Linked DNA regions of Homo sapiens: region 2 is linked to region 1. The links are contacts of gene promoters, found by promoter capture Hi-C in blood cells and fetal thymus (Javierre and others, 2016). All regions are on one chromosome and are shown on one strand. The core of a region is centred on a gene start or on the middle of the fragment in contact, and the rest is flanking DNA. Distances in the headings are between cores, read along the strand shown. Region 1 holds the start of ST3GAL5 (ST3 beta-galactoside alpha-2,3-sialyltransferase 5). Region 2 holds the start of MRPL35 (mitochondrial ribosomal protein L35).

Region 1 (5,401 bases), core at 669-3,168:
TGGAATGGACTCCCACAGAGGACTCACCAACCTCTTTTCATTCATTGCCTCCCGAGGCCAACCTGCTAGATAAATTCCCCTCATTGCTGCAAATAGTCCCACAAGGCAAGCAGGGAAGAACTAGAGGAGCAAACCAAAGAACAAAGAGTGTGTTCTTATTCTGCCACGGATATATCCTTAACGTTCATCACCAATCTATTTTGATAACATGCAACAATTTACAATTTATGCCAAAATTATAAGAACTGTCCAAATAGTCGTAAATGTGAGCTCTCAAAATTTCTGCCTGTCAGCCCTCTCTCTTCCATGAGCCCCTTCATGCCTTCCTATCTCACCTGTTTCTTTTCTCGCCTAGACGAAGAAATGCTGATCATAACCCAGAATATCCAAGGGTCATTTCATCTTACAAAAACAGCAGCATCCATATAACAGGCACATGGGTAAAAGACTCAAGACATGCTGGTTATATGCTCTCGCAGTTCGTATGAATCTCTCCTTCTCCAAGTGACAGCTGGAATTCAGGTGCTTCTAGGCTCTGTTACTAGCAATGTTAGACACTCCTCGAAGCTGTCAAGCTCTCAGGATTACACAAGTGAAACCACAACCTGTCCTGACTGTATTCAAGTCTGTGCCCCTTCATGCAGCAGAAATGGATTCCTCTTCCACAGTTTCAGCAGCTGTATCCTTCCGTGGAAAAGGATTAGCAGCCATAAGCCCGGGGGAGGGCAGCTAAACACCAGAGGGCAGGAGATGAGTCTCCTTCCTCTCTGTGACACCCAGCACGGCCCTGCCACGAGGAGCAGGCAACCACTGGTGCCAGATGAAGCGCAGCACATAAAACCATTTTCCCCTTCAAATGAACGATGCCTAATTAAGCAAAAGCCGCATGCATGACTTAAGACATGAGGATATAAAATTCGTCTTCCGAGTCAGCTAGAGATTCTGCAGGATCCTCTACCCTCGTAAACGTATTTTTTTATGATTAGAAAAACCCGGGGCCTGGAAGGGACCTCGGCCATCGGCAGGGTAAGCTTCTCAGGAGAGACCATGAGCCCGAGCCCCACAGGGGGATCAGTGTCTGCCAAGGTCACCAAGCGGGTGTGAGGCAAGGGCAGGGCTCCTCGGGGATGCTCTCGGAAAACCCTGCGTTACTTACACACGCAAGGCGTACAATGAATGCACACCCGCGTCAAGCCACGGCTTACAATTCAGAAGAAATCAAAAGGTCGCCAAAACCTGTCTTCTCCGCAAGGCTGGCTGCAGAGAGGGTGCAGGGAAGGTCACCGGCAAATTTCTACCAGCGGCCCCACATCACGCCTCCCCGATGGATGCAGAGAGAGGTTTCAGGAGCTGCTAGTAACCTTGCAGGGGGTTCCCTAAGCCCATCCCAGGAAAACGAGTTAACTCGGCTCTGCTAACTCCGAAGCTTCCAGCAATGAATTAAATCCCGAGCTGCAGCGGAAAGCGGCGGGGAAAGGGCCACTGCGGCGGGACCCGACACCCGGCGGTCCGCCCCACCCTCTACCGCGTACACACCTGCGTGGGACCCCCCGCCCGGTCCACACGGCCCGGGACCACGACCCTCCGCCCGCGCCCCAGCCGGGCTCGCCTGAGGGTGTCGTGCCCTGGGCGCTGCCCGCGGGGTTCGAGGCGGAAACGCCGCGCCCAGCCGGCCCGGGAAGAGACAAGTCGCCGCCGCAGCCCCCAGCCCGCGGGCCCCCGCGACGCCGAGGAGGGGGCTGCGCCACGTACCTCGGCCGGCAGGTGCCGCCGCTGCCTCGGTCCGCGGCTGCAGGGGACGCCGCTCCGCGCAGCCCGCCGCCTTCGTCCGCATACTAATGAGGGGGCGCCGGCCGGCCGCCAGCCCGGTACCCCGCGCCCCCACCCGCCCCCAGCGCCGCTCTCGCGCCCATTCAGCTGGGGGCCGCCGCTCCCCCGCTCAGATGCGGAGGAGGGGCGCGTGGGCGGGGTCTGACGTCACGAGGACGCGGACGGCCAATCGGAGAGCACGATGCCTCCGCGGCGGCCCCCGCCCCCGGGCGCGCGGCCAGTCAGCCCTGCGGTGCGGTGGGCATTGCCAGAGCAGGGCGCCCCCTGCAGGGACGCACCCGGGGCGGGGGCCAGGCTGGGGCGAGCCCCCCTTGGTTCTGGAGAGGAAATGACATACAGTTTGTGAAAGCATAAATATTCGTGAAAATAAGAAAATTCAGGAAGGAAACAAAGCTTAAGGCAGTGATTGATAGGTTATTTCTTGGACACAGCTGAACGTATACTGTGCGCCTGCAACTTTCCGGTGGTTTCGGACCGGACTTCAGTGAAGCCAGTGAAGTCGGTCGACTTGCAGAACTTCCTTTCAGAGGGGCGTACACAGCACCGCGGCCGTGTGCCTGTGATCTCCTTCTGAGTTTGAAAAAGAAGATCCTAGACACCGAGCCAAATATGTTTGCATAAACCGGGAGACTTGTGGCTCTATTTTGTAACAGCTTGGCGCAGGGCAGCTGGTTTGGAGATGTCTCTGTTCTTCCCTTGGTGGGGGTGCCGGAAAAAATGTGCTGCCTGGGCGATCGAGGTTGGGGCAAAAGCGTTGCAAAGGAAAAGGTGGGAGGACTCTACTTTCACATTTCCCAAAAGAGTTTTACCATAAGACTATTTCTGGATTGTTCTAACGTGAGGATATTGGGAGCATTTTGAAAATACTGGAGGAAAAGCTGTCACTGGGCGATTTAAATCCGGTAAGTTGGCCAAGGCAGAGCAGCTGCTGGGGTCAGCGACAGCTGACCCTTGCAGCTGAGTATCTTGCCCTCTTAATCTTGGAGATCAGCCCAAGGCCCATGTGTTACAGGAAAGGGGTCCCGATCTAGACCCCAAGAGAGGGTTCTTCGATCTCACGCAAGAAACAATTCAGAGTAAGTCCACAGTGCAAAGTAAAAGCAAGTTTATTAAGAAAGTAAAGTGGTGGCTGGGCACAGTGGCTCACGCGTAATCCCAGCACTTTGGGAGGCTGAGACGGACAGATCACCTGATGTCAGGAGTTCAAGACCAGCTGGCCAACATGGCAAAACCCCGTCTCTACTAGAAATACAAATATTGGCCGGGCGTGGTGGCGCAAGCCTGTTGTCTCAGCTACTCACGGGGCTGAGGCAGGAGAATCGCTTGAACCCGGGAGGCAGAGGCTACAGTGAGCCGAGATCGCCACTGCACTCCAGCAGGGCATTCCTGAAAATAAGAGGAGGGACATATCCAACTAAGGTACAATGCTTGTAATGCTTGTATATATGGGCAGATGTCTTCTGCTACAAGGGTTTGTGATAAAGGATTAATTTTCCCTAATTACTATATTTTGCAATAATCAATATTATTATTTTTAAAGCAAAATTAGGAATGCCTTTGTTCTCCAGATATCGGGATATCTGGACTCTCTCAAGTCTGGGTCTGTTTAGTAAGCATTATTAATTTGTTCTCTTAACCATAAACACCTAGAGGCTAGGAATGCCTAGCTTTCAGGAAATGCAGCCTAGCAAGTCCCAGCCTCATTTTTCTAGCCCTCACTCAAAATGGAGGCGCTCTGGTTTGAACACTTCTGACACATGTGCTTGATGCAACACTCTTTACCTCTCTTTGTCTCCCCTGTCCTTCCCCTTCTCTTCCAGATTCCCCTTGTCGGCAAAGCCAGGCGCTGATAGCGTTATGGCTGCCATGAGAGTCAGCAGTATCCCAGCTTCCAAGGATGGGTGTAAGGTGGGGGTGAGGAAGAAAAGGAACTTGAAGCTGCCTCCTGTCCCAGAATCACAAGACATCTGTTAAGCCCTTACTACCTCATTCACTCCACTCACATTAGGTTGACCCACTTGGGCAGCAAGACAAGCAGGCCTGCAAACTTCCTTTTCTTCATCAGCCACAGAGACATCCTCAGCTATTATTCTGGATTAAGGCAGAGATCTCCAAACAGCAGACTAAGATCAGCCTCTAGATCTCAAAGCCTTACTGTTATCTCTCCAAGTCAGTGGCTGATCTCAGAGAAGCTTCTGAATAGTGACTAGCAAAGAGTCACTCAGGCTACTTACAAATCCAGGACAGCAGCGTTTTTTTTTTTTTCTTTTTTAGAGACAGATTCACTCTGTCATCCAAGCTGGAGTGCAGTGGCACGATCTTGGCTCACTGCAACCTCCACCTCCTGGGCTCAAGCAATCCTCCTACCTCAGCCTCCCAAGTAGCTGGAACTACAGGTACCCAACACCATGCCAGGCTAATTTCTAATTTTTTGTAGAGACAGCAGTCTCCCTCTGTTGCCCAGGCTGGCCTCAAACTCCTAGGCTCAAGTGTTCCTCCTGCCTGGGCCTCCCAAAGTGCTGGGATCACAGATGTGAGCCACTGCATGCAGCCAAAACCAGTTATTTTTTGGCTGGGCATGGTGGCTCGCACCTGTGATCCCAGCACTTTGGGAAGCCGAGGTGGGCAGATTACTTGAGGTCAGGAGTTTGAGACCAGCCTGGACAACATGGTGAAACCCTGTCTCTGCTAAAAGTACAAAAAATTAGCTGGGCATGGTGGCATGTGCCTGTAATCCCAGCTACTCAGGAGGCTGAGGCAGGAAAATTGCTTGAACCCAGGAGGCAGAGGTTGCAGTGAGCCGAGATCACGCTAGTGCACTCTAGCCTGGGTGACAGAGCGAAACTCTGTCTAAAAAAAAGAAGTTATTTTTTATCAATATATATTAACATGCAATGGATTTATTATTATTATTATTTTATTTATTTATTTTTTACTTGAGACAGAGTCTTGCTCTGCCACCCAGGCTGGAGTGCAATGGTACAATCATGGCTCACTGCAACCTCCACCTCCCAGGTTCAGGTGATTCTCCTGCCTTAGCCTCCAGAAGTAGCTGGGATTACAGGCACGTACCACCATGCCCAGCTAATATTTGTATTTTTAGTACAGATGGGGTTTCACCATGTTGGCCAGGCTGGTCAAGAACTCCGGACCTCAGGTGATCCACCCTCCTCAGCCTCCCAAAGTGCTGGGATTATAGGTGTGAACCACAATGCCCAGCCAGATTTATTATTTTAATGACTTAATAAATATTTTAAAATTTAAATATTTAAATTAAATTAAATATTTAAAAATTTCTCAGTTTTAATTTTTAATTTGGCAAATATCAAGAGAAAGACCATGTCAAAAAGATTCTTTGGGATCCTCAGTAATTTCTAGGTGTGTAAATTGATCCTGAGACCAGAGTTTGAGACTTACTGGTCTCAGCCACCCAGATAGCCCCATTGCCCCATCCTCCTTGCCACTAGGAATGGTTCATGGGTAGCCACAGGAACCACACTGATCCAATCAGAGGAAGTCTCAGGAATTTATTGGATGCTGGGGGAGAGATGCTTTCATGTTCTGCTAGACA
Region 2 (5,533 bases), core at 541-3,040, 310 kb after region 1:
TTGATTCCATACCAAATAATTGAGACCACCCTGGGCAACATAGTGAGACCTAGGTCTCTACAAAAAATTTAAAAATTAGCCAGGTGTGTGCCTGTAGTCTCAGCTACTCAGGAGGCTTAGGTGGGAGGATTGCTTGAGCCTAGGAGGTCGAGGCTGCAGTGAGCTGTGATCGCACCACTGCACTCAAGCCTTCGCAACAGACCAAGACCTAGTCTCAAAAAAAAAAAAAAGTGCGCAATGACTCCCGTTGCCAATTCAAAGAGCTTTTATGAATGTTTCAATATACTTGTCTAGCGTATGTGCCTGTTTTTGGACTCAAAGTGGCCACCATAGGTGGGAGATCAAGTTGGCAACAATAGTGTTCCAAGGTAATACACCCTATATCTTGCTCTGTACCCCAGGCTGGAGTGCGGTGGCTCAATCTTGGCTTGCTGCAACAACCGCCTCCCAAGTTCAAGCGATTCTCCTGCCTCAGCCTCCCGAATAGCTGGAACTACAGGCGCGCGCCACCACGCCCGGCTAATTTTTTGTACCCCTTAGTAGAGACGGGGTTTCACCCTGTTAGCCAGGATGGTCTCAATCTCCTGACCTCGTGATCTGCCCGCCTCGGCCGCCCAAAGTGCTGGGATTACAGGCGTGAGCCACCGCGCCCGGCAAGAATTTTTTTTTTTTTTTTGAGATGGAGTTTCGCTCTTTCGCCCAGACTGGAGTTCAGTGGCACGATCTCTGCTCACTGCAACCTCCGCCTTCCGGTTTCAAGCGATTCTCCTGCCTCAGCCTCCCAAGCCCGGCTACTTTTTGTATTTTTAGTACAGACGGGGGTTTCATCATGTTGGCCAGGCTGGTCTCGAACTCCTGACCTTGTGATCCGCCCGCCGCGGCCTCCCAAAGTGCTGGGATTACAGGCGTGAGCCACCGTGCCCGGCCCCAAGAATTTTTTTTAATAAGAAATTTTGTAGAACCTTCTATAGGCAGTCGTTTTACAGCGGCGAAGAACGGAACCCGGCAGATGACATTGAATAAATGTTGAGTGGACAACTTTGTTCTTTTCCTCTTCCTTGACTCCGCCTCCTTGCTTTCCCTTCATTCTCTTTTGCTCTTGTGCTTTTAAACCCAAAGCGGCCGCCGTAGGCGAAGGTGAAGATGGCTGCCTCTGCCTTTGCTGGTGCAGTGAGAGCAGCTTCAGGTCAGTGGAGAGCGACATACTCCATGCATGCCTTCACAGAAGGGGAAACTGGTGCGGGATGGAATGGGCGTTTAGACTGGAGGTTAACAAGCAAAAAGGGTCATTATTTAAGTTAAGAAGGTTGCGCCCAATTTTCTCTGGGGCGGTGTGACCGGCAGCCCGTACCAAGTCCCCCGACTCGGACTCACGCGGGCCTGTGTGTCACGCATTTGCCGCTTCCTTACCAGCTTTTTTTCCCTAGAAAAGAAGCCAGAGAAACTGGAACGGAGGGGGCGAGGGAAACCAAAAAGTCTCACCTAACTTTCTGATTTAGAGGCTACGACCTGCCATTCACGACCTTTAACCTTGAGAATTAATGTCTCCTAACTTAAGATTCTACACCTCTAAAATGGGGGTCATAACCACCTACCTGGGGATTAAATGAGATAATGCACGTAAAGCGTTTTGGGCAGTGCCTGACACATGGTAAGCTTGAAGGCTAATTTAATTTTTAACTACAGCCCCCGGCACAAGGGCTGGTATGAGGACTTCTTGACTGAGAGATAGCAGAAGTAAAGGCGACTAAATTAAGTTGCCGTGACGTTAAGTACTTTTTGCAAAAAGTTAAAAATCATCCAAATACCATAGGATGCTCAGTAAGTTACTTTCACACAAAATATATTGTTAGGATAACATTTTGTGGGAGAATATACGAGATCAGTCAAGAAAATGCAGCGATGTAAATTTTACCGTTAGAGAAAAGCTTTTTTTATGTGGAGTATTTTTTGTGTTCGCGAAATATAATACATATGAAGAAAATTTTATATAGTATGCATGAATGATTTAACAGTTCTAAAGCAAACACCTGTTTAACACTCAGGTCAAAACAGTGCACTACCAGAAGCCTCCTCTCCCCTATGTATCAAAATTCTCTACTTCCCCCCCAGATATAAACACTGTTCTCATTTTTATAGTTACTATTAGGTTGCCTATTTTTCCTATAGTAGTTTTAGCATCCATATGTGCATCTCAAGAACATAGTTTTGCCTGGTTTTGAACTTCACATGAATTGGTTCATACAGTATATACGCTTTAGTATCTTCTTTTACATTGTGAGATTCATTCATTCATTTTGCGTAGCTGTAATGCTTTCTCATTGCTATATAATTCTTTTTTTTTTTTTGAGACGGAGTTTCTCTCTTGTTGCCCAGGCTGGAGTGCAATGGCACGATCTGGGCTCACTGCAACCTCCTCCTCCCAGGTTTAAGTGATTCCCTTGGAGTAGCTGGGATTACAGGCATGCGCCACCACGCCCAGCTAATTTTGTATTTTTAGTAGAGTTGGGGTTTCTCCATGTTGGTCAGGCTAGTCTGGAACTCCTGACCTCAGGTGATCCGCCCGCCTCGACCTCCCAAAGTGCTGGGATTACGGGTGTGAGCCACCCTGCCCGGCCTGCTGTATAATATTATATGACTGTGCCACAATTCTCCATTTCCAGTTTGGGGCAATTATGTACAAAGCTGATTGATCTCATCCTGGCGCATGAGTCCAATTGTTTCTGAGGATGTGGGTATGTGTGAAAATCGCTGTGGAATTGCCTGGTCAGAGAATATGTATATATTCAGCATTGCCTGATATTGCCAAACTGTTGAGGCCCCACATCCTCACCAACACCTGATATTGATATTGTCAATAGATATTGTCAGACCTACAAATTTTTGTTAATCTGGTGGCTTTGTAATGGTATCTCATTGAGATTTAAATAAGCATTTCTCTGATTAATAACAAGCTATAGTGTGTTTCACATTTTTATTGGCCTTTTGAATTTCCTTTATGAAATATCCACTTAAATATTTTGCCCATTTTCCTATTGGATTGTTTGTCTTATTTATTTAGAGTATTTTTTGTTTTGTTTTTGTTTTTCATTTGTGTGTGTCCTTTAGCTTCTCCCACTCAGGCTTGTCTTTTTTACATTATTTTGGAGTGCCCTTTGACGAAAAGTTGTTTTTCATCTACTTGAATTTATAGTTCTTGTAATTTTTAAATAGATGATGTAGGTAGTTATCAACTTACTATTAATTTAGATTCTACTGAAAACAATTTAAAGAGTGATGTGACAGCTTATTTTAAAATGTCAGTATTTTAAATATGCTGGAAATTATAGCCTTTTTAACAATTTAAACTATTTGATATTTTAGATATTAAGAATTTGTGAAAGGGTAGTTTTTCAAAATTCTTTTAGGAAACATAGGATCAGAAATCTTGAAGACTCCTGGTTTCGATACTGTCACAGTCTCCTCCACTCCCATCCAGTGCAGTTCATGTCCCCCATTCATTCCTTTGATTCATGCCACATAGGGCCATTGTAATTCCCCAAATGTACATCGTCACCTTTGTACGTCCTATTCCCTCTGTCTCTTCGTACTCTGTCAAAACTCTGGTTTTGCGTTACCTCTTTTGTGAAAACATCTGTATTCTCTATACAACAGTGTGTTTAGAGTAGACTAGTCTGTATGAAAATGCCCAGACGGGGCAGAGGACTGAAGGAAATTAGTTACTTTCCTTGATGTACTGCACTTTTGTTAACAAAGCTAGACTGTTAGGTTTCCCTCACAGGCTTAATCACATGATTGATCCACCAGAAGGCGCAGTAGATAGAGCCTCCCCACATATTTTCCCATGAACTGCTCTCAACCAAGATCCCAGTTCCTGTTGTTCCCGTAACCATTTTTTCTAACTTCAGTGTATTTATTCCTGATTTCATCTTGTTGGTTTTGATCTGTTTTTCTCTCTTACTAAGATCACTTGGAGTTCTGATACTCTGTGTCTTCACAAATACATTAACAAGCCATTGTTCCCAGCTTGCTTTTTGGGAAAATTGATAAATATGTCTTATGCAGCCTCAGGATCTTCATAAAAATTGAGAACAAAAGAATTTCATAGGTTTTAATTTTTTAACCAAGAGATACCAAAATCTGATGACGTGTGAAAATTGGAACATTTTCTTGTCTACAGTCCTCCAATGCACTTAATCTTCCAAAGATTACCTCCTGCCTTATTACATCTGCACATCTTTTCAGTTCTTTGCGATTTAACTTATTTGATTTCCAAGGCCCTATGTAAGGGCTCTCTCATCAGTTTTCTGCACCAATGTTTATGCTACCCTTTTCAGTTGCAAATTGTTATCTCTTTTTCTTTTGTGGAGACAGAGTCTCCTTCTGTCTCCTGGAGTGCAGTGGCAAGATCTCGGCTCACTGCAACCTCTGCCTCCTGAGTTCAAGCAGTTCTCCTACCTCAGCCTCCGAGTAGCTGGGACTACAGGCGCGCGTCACTCTGCCCAGCTAATATTTCTATTTTTAGTAGAGACGGGGTTTCACATGTTGGCCAAGCTGGTCGCAAACTCCTGACCTCAGGTGATCCGCCGGGGCCTCCCAAAGTGTTGGGGTTACAGGGGTGAGCTACCACACCTGGCCCTGTTATCACTGATGGCCACATATTAATATACAGGTTAGGTATCTTTAATCTGAAACTTTTTGAGTACCAACATGACACCACAAGTGGGAAATTCTTTTTTTTTTTTTTTTTGAGACGGAGTCCCGCTCTGTCGCTCAAGGTGGAGTGCAGTGGCACAATCTCAGCTCACTGCAAGCTCTGCCTCCCAGGTTCACGCCATTCTCCTGCTTCAGCCTCCCAAGTAGCTGGGACTACAGGCACCTGCCACCATGCCCAGCTAATTTTTTTTTGTATTTTTAGTAGAGACGGGGTTTCACTGTGTTAGCCAAGATGGTCTTGACCTCCTGATCTCCTCGTGATCTGCCTGCCTCGGCCTCCCAAAGTGCTGGGATTACAGGCGTGAGCCACCGCACCCGGCCCACAAATGGAAAATTCTTTACCCGATCTCACGTGATCGGTGGCAGTCAAAACTTTGTTTCATGTACAAAATTATTTAAAATATTGTATAAAATTAACTTTAAGCTATATGTGTAAGATTTATATGAAACAAATGAATTTCATGTTTGGACTTGAGTCCCATCTCCAAGATATCTCCTTTATGCAAAATTTTAAAAAATCTAAAATACTTCTGGTCACAAGCATTTCAGATAATACTCAACCTGTATCATCTTTGCTAAGTATCCCTCTTCTTTATTATCTGCCATTAGCATTCATTAAATGTTTTCTCTGTGCTACCCTTCCAAGCACTATACATGCTTCATCTCATTCAAGTCTCATTACCTCTCCATAATTAACTTCATTTAAATTTGAGGAAACTGGGGCACAGAGAGGTTAAGTAACTTGCCCCTGGTTACACAGCAAGGAAGTCATAGAGCTAGAATATGAGCCCAAATCATCTCATTCAAATCCTAGCAC

Evidence for each region. Contacts are between HindIII fragments. The CHiCAGO score rates a contact against its expected background, and 5 or more counts as called.
Region 2: a contact is called between a fragment that was not itself captured here and the fragment with the promoter of ST3GAL5 in region 1, in 1 of 17 cell types (fetal thymus). The highest score is 5.9, in fetal thymus.

Annotation. Positions count from the first base shown.
Region 1 is chr2:85,887,072-85,892,472 of GRCh38, forward strand. It overlaps ST3GAL5 (ST3 beta-galactoside alpha-2,3-sialyltransferase 5), which reads right to left and starts at 1,919. Exons shown (of 7, transcript NM_003896.4): 1 at 1,753-1,919. The coding sequence starts at 1,834. It overlaps ST3GAL5-AS1 (ST3GAL5 antisense RNA 1), which reads left to right and starts at 2,209. Exons shown (of 3, transcript NR_110569.1): 1 at 2,209-2,732; 2 at 4,105-4,134; 3 at 4,620-5,181. RefSeq lists enhancers at 501-620, 631-760, 1,099-1,599, 1,291-1,370 and silencers at 1,541-1,660, 1,701-2,320. The HindIII fragment of the contact is 797 bases long and covers 1,425-2,221 here.
Region 2 is chr2:86,198,348-86,203,880 of GRCh38, forward strand. It overlaps MRPL35 (mitochondrial ribosomal protein L35), which reads left to right and starts at 1,110. Exons shown (of 4, transcript NM_016622.4): 1 at 1,110-1,186. The coding sequence starts at 1,144. RefSeq lists an enhancer at 929-1,198. The HindIII fragment of the contact is 272 bases long and covers 1,655-1,926 here.